2 separate regions of the Homo sapiens genome follow, and region 1 is linked to region 2. The links are contacts of gene promoters, found by promoter capture Hi-C in blood cells and fetal thymus (Javierre and others, 2016). All regions are on one chromosome and are shown on one strand. The core of a region is centred on a gene start or on the middle of the fragment in contact, and the rest is flanking DNA. Distances in the headings are between cores, read along the strand shown.

What was found. The method cuts DNA at HindIII sites, captures the fragments that hold promoters and counts their contacts. A CHiCAGO score of 5 or more calls a contact.
Region 1: a fragment that was not itself captured here is called in contact with the fragment with the promoter of WDR33 in region 2 in 2 of 17 cell types (naive CD4 T cells and total B cells); the score reaches 5.3 in naive CD4 T cells.

What each region holds. Positions count from the first base shown.
Region 1 is chr2:127,721,853-127,724,552 of GRCh38, reverse strand. It overlaps WDR33 (WD repeat domain 33), which reads left to right. Exons shown (of 22, transcript NM_018383.5): 11 at 110-220; 12 at 1,206-1,300; 13 at 1,509-1,595; 14 at 1,823-1,962; 15 at 2,565-2,700. Among named protein-coding and RNA genes, the nearest start is that of SFT2D3, 22 kb to the right of the region's middle. RefSeq lists an enhancer at 1,991-2,700. The HindIII fragment of the contact is 2,078 bases long and covers 249-2,326 here.
Region 2 is chr2:127,809,814-127,812,513 of GRCh38, reverse strand. WDR33 (WD repeat domain 33) reads left to right here and starts at 1,343. Exons shown (of 22, transcript NM_018383.5): 1 at 1,343-1,502. It overlaps LOC124907885 (a long non-coding RNA gene), which reads right to left and starts at 1,263. Exons shown (of 2, transcript XR_007087230.1): 1 at 371-1,263; 2 at 1-2. RefSeq lists enhancers at 1,042-1,111, 1,382-1,671, 1,692-1,771, 1,852-1,931, 1,338-2,278 and 1 more. The HindIII fragment of the contact is 7,008 bases long and covers 1-2,700 here.

The DNA.
Region 1 (2,700 bases), core at 38-2,537, 88 kb after region 2:
AGGCTTTGGTAGCTTCATTTTAAGAGTAACAGAAAATGTCTTTTTTGAGGGGGAGGGAGAAGCTGGGTAACTTTTGTGAACAAATCTTCTCTCTTTGGTGCTGTTGCAGGGTAGAGAAGGAAGTGGGTGGGATGGAGATGGCTCACGAAGGGATGATCTGGAGTCTGGCTTGGCATCCTCTTGGGCATATTCTCTGCTCAGGCTCAAATGACCATACTAGGTAAGCTTTATATTGAAATAGCAAAGCTTTATATGGAGCAACAGGAAATAAATACTGTATGTGTTTATTTTTATTGGTTGATTGATATAGTAATTTATATTCCAACTTATTCTTGGGAATATTTTTGTAGTGGTTTACAAATACTTATATTGCAATAAAGAGATTGGGTATTGAATATGGTTTTGGCTATTCAAATTTTGTTTTGCCTTCTGACTTAAAACAGAAGTTTTCCACTTTTATTTATTTATTTATTTATTTATTTGAGACAGGGTCTCTGTCCAGGCTGGCGTGCAATGGTGCGGTCTCAGCTCACTATAGCCTCAACCTTCCTGGGCTCAGGTGATCCTCCTACCTCAGCCTCCTGAGTAGCTGAGACTATAGGAGCACACCACCACACCTGGCTAATTTTTGCATTTTTTGTAGAGATGGGGTTTCACCATGTTGCCCAGGCTGATGTCAAACTCCTGGGCTTAGGCAATCCTCCTGCCTCAGCCTCCCAAGGTGCTGGGATTACAGGCATGAGCCACCTTGCCCGGCCCCACATTTTATTTTTATTTTTATTATTATTTTAAGAGACAGAGTCTCACTCTGTCACCGAGACTAGAGTTCTGTGGTGAGATCACAGCTCACTGTAGCCTCAAACTCCTGGGCTCAAGCCATCTTCCCGCCTTATCCTCGTGAGTAGCTGAGACTACAGGTGTGTGCCACCACACCCAGCTAACTTTTTAATTTTTATTTTGTAGAGACAGGGTTTCGCTATGTTGCCCAGGCTGGTCTTGGACTCCTGGACTTAATCCTCCTGCCACAGCCTCCCAAAGTGCTGGGATTACAGATGTGAGCCAAAGTGTATGACCTCACATTTTAAATTTGTAGAAGAAACAAATTGTAAAAATGTGTTGTGTTTACCAAGGGTCTGCCTAGTACTGTTTAGTGCCCAAAAAAATAGTGAAGCCATGCTTCTTTTCTCCTTTAATTATTTTTACAGCAAATTCTGGACTCGAAACCGACCAGGTGATAAAATGCGAGATCGATATAATCTAAACCTTTTACCTGGAATGTCTGAAGATGGAGTAGAATATGGTGAGACTCTTGCACATCTGTCCTTCTTTGAAATCTGGTATTCTATTACAGAAGTGTTAGATGTTGGGAAGATTATACAAAATGAATTTTAATTTTATAGTAGATTTATTTATAAATCATCAGTGACATTCATTTTTATAAAGCATTAATTTTATCAGTCGCTACTTTTGTAAATTCTCTATTGACAATGGTGTATTACTATTTATAGATGACCTCGAACCTAATAGCCTGGCAGTAATTCCAGGAATGGGAATACCAGAACAACTAAAATTAGCTATGGAACAAGAACAGATGGGTAAGAGAAGTTACACAGACACATTTAATTTTTACAAATTTTTTCTTGACCCGTTTATGTTCCTGATAAATATATTGAAATACCAAAATGATTTATGTTGAGAAATGTTGATAAAAATTATATAAATGACATAATACTTAAAATCTATTCTTCCAATAATGTGTTCATTGATCAAGTGGCCAATTTCTTTTATTTAAGAGGCAAACCACTTTTCTTTACGGTTACAGGGAAAGATGAATCAAATGAAATTGAAATGACAATTCCAGGTTTAGATTGGGGAATGGAGGAAGTGATGCAAAAGGATCAGAAAAAAGTACCTCAGAAGAAAGTTCCTTATGCAAAACCCATTCCTGCTCAGTTCCAGCAGGTAAGTAAAAGTGACTCCACCTCATCCACGCAGAGAGGTTTTGGTTGGTTAGTTTGAGGTTTCTCTTGGATTATCTCACTGTTGAAGGTGTTTCTGTACTGGAGCATTTTTCCCATGTTCACGTACTCTTAGACATGGTTCTCATCTACTGCTTTGCAGTTGTATTGAGTTTGTTATCAGTCTTCTCTGTTCTGTCCTCACCTGCTTATTATCATCCATGCTATGAGAGGAAATAGAAGAAAGAGGCATGGAGCAGAGGGAGTATGGGAGTATGTTGCTTCTCTTCTCCATTGTTTATCTATCTTGTGCTTTAATTGTCCCCTCAACACAAAGTGCATGTACCCTGTGAAGAGGCTGGCAAGCTTTGCATTCTTAATAACATGCAGTGTCTTGCAGCTTTTATCACCATAGTAATTTCTACCTAGTAATATGTCAGTAAGAATTAGCATGAGTCATGTACTTGAGTCATGGAGAAAAGGTAAAAAGAAATAAAATCGGTTCAGAGGTTAGATTGAGCAGATGACATTGTAGAGTGGTTTTCTCATTCTATCATTGTAATTTTCATACTTAGCGTACATTTTAATATTCTCTTCTTTCCCAAGGCTTGGATGCAAAATAAAGTTCCAATTCCTGCTCCAAATGAGGTGCTGAATGACAGAAAAGAAGACATTAAATTGGAAGAGAAGAAAAAAACACAAGCAGAAATTGAGCAAGAAATGGCTACATTACAATATACTA
Region 2 (2,700 bases), core at 94-2,593:
CTCTAAAAAAAGAAAAAATATAGAAGTTTATAAACATTTCTGATGTTATCATAAAAACTTTAGATACTGTGTAATGTCTGCATGATAGTCTACGTATGGATGTGCCATTATTTAATCACTGTCTGCTACTGTTTCCTTTTTTTTTTGCTATCATTAATACCTCAAAGATTAGTACACAAATCTTACTCACATCTCTGAGGCTATCCTTAGAATAGATTTTTGGAAGGGGATTATGGAGTCAAAAGTAAGACTTCTTTGAGACAGGGTCTTACTCTGCTTCCAAGACTTAAGTGCACTGGCACGATCTTGGCTCACTGCGCCCTCCAACTCCTGGGCTCAAGTGATCCTCCCACCCCAGTCTCCCAAGTACCCATCACAGGAACGATCACAGGAAGGCGGTCACAGGAACGCACCCCGACGCGCAAAGATGGGATCTCGCCATGTTCCCCAGGCTGGTACGATTCCTGATTCATACTGGAGAACAACTTGCTGTGCAGTTATATTTTGAACCTCATCAAAATGGAATCATACAGCGTCCTCTTCTTTGTGCCTAAGTTAACAGTAGCTGCTATTCGTTCAGGCTGTTGCGTTTATCCGTAACTTCCTATTTCTCTGTAGAAATCCACTGTATGATACACCACAATTTAGCCACTCAACTGCTGATGGACATTTAGGTTACCAGTTTTTTACTACTACGAATAAACGTGCTATGGACATTCTTGCACATGCCTTTGGTGGACGTATGCACTCATTCCTCTTGAAGTGAAATTTCTGGGGTCACAAGGTAAGCGTACATTTAGCTTTGGCAGAAACTGCAGCGGTTTTCCAAAATGGTTGCATCGTGGGGCTGTTTTTCTATCTTGGTCGCTGGACTTTAAGCGAGGCGTAATCTAGAGGCACAACTGGCTCGGGTAAGGCGTGGAGCCTGACTGTGTGCCGGGATCTGCCAGGGCTGCCACCAGCTAGCTGCACGGGTGAACAGACTCAGCAAGGTGCCACAGTGGCTTCCCACAGATCCACTCTCGGTGGGCTCGGTCCAACGACCCGCTATGTCTGCCGTACTGGCCCCGTACAAATATACTCATTCACATACTGGAAAACGGGGTGTTTTTCAGAGCATACACGTTAGCTCACACTGTAAAAAAAAGTCAGCACTGCGAAACGCAGTCGCTTCTTTCCTCCAGGAGGTAGCGCGTCCTACTCGCTCCGGAACAAAGGAAGCGCTCTGCAGGGTCTCGCGGCTCGGCACCTCACCTAGGCACATGCGCAGATCGAACCTCACAGAGGCCCGCGGTCCAGGCGCGCGTGACGTAGCGCCGTCCCGCCAGTGCGTGATGACCCCAGAGCGTGCGTTCGGTGGCCCATAGGGGAAGATGGCGGCTGCTCCTTTGGAGGAGCGGGATTGAGAGGATCGGGGTGGGGAGACCAAACAAGAGAGACATTTCTGGCTCTGAAGGCGAACGCTTCGCTGGCCATTTAGGAGCTCTGCTCAAAGCCAGACGGTGAGTGCGGCGGCGACACGGGACTGCTCGCCTGCAGCAGGCAGCGGCACTCTCCGCCATTTTCGGGCTCGGCCGTTGCGTGCTTTGGGGGCCTGGACGGGCGCCTGGGCACAGGTTGGAGGAACTGGGAGAATCGACCTCGGGGCGGCTGTTCGAGGCAGGTTCGAGACTTATGGGAGGGGGCTGGAGGCTGGAGGCCAACCGGGAAAAGCGGCCATGGTTAGAACTAAGGCCCTGACTGGGAGCGGTGGCGACGAGAAGACGTAAGTCAGGCCACAGTTAAGACGTGAAGTTTGGAGGGAAATGCATTTTAACTGAGGTTTGGGGCGGGAGTGGAAAGAAGTGGGCCGAGTTGAAGTAGTTGGTTGAAAGGGTCAAGGGAAGTTAACGTGAAATCTGCAAAACAGCTGAAGACTTAGCCGTGATGTTATCGTGGCTTGAAATCGGTGCTTATTATAAGGATGAGGCTACAGCTTGACAGGCAAAGCCCTGCTTTTTTGGAATAGTTGTATTTCTATTTGGTTTGTGCTAGATCCCTGTTTCTGATTTTAAGTTGTCTTCTGGCAACTAAGTAGTGAGGATCTTAGCATGCCTTCTTAAAAGAAATGACAATGAATGTTTGTACTTGGTTGTAACCCTTGGGATTAGTGGCCCCTTCCGGAGTAAGGAGGAGGCGGCGGCGGCAGGTCGGTAGGGAATTCCGTAATTGGATCTATTTAAATCAAATCAGAAAAATACGGGCTACTTGTAGAAAGCCTGTCAAGAATGTTTTAAAGTAGTTTCTACACACATGATCTTAAGTTGACTGTTCAGGAACTTTGGAAGACATTAGAATATGAACAAAAAGCCTGCACTGAAAGGAACAACTCTGGGGAGCGTAGACTTTACTTTTTTAGTACACTCTGGAGAGCTAATGCATGCTATATATACATATATATGTGTATATATGTGTGTGTGTATGTATATATAGCCTGTGAATATGGTGCAGTGGTAAACCTACTTAATTCAAACCTTTTAGTGACAGTTATGCTAGTTGTACCTCTTGTGGCATTTTTCATTTCCTCGCCTTAATTGCATTTTACCCATTTTTTATTACTGTAAGATACTTTTGCTTTTTTTGTCTCCTTGACCGGGAGAAGATAAAATATTGTATAGATTTGAGTTTTTGCTGAGACTTGAAGTTCCATATTTAGACTAT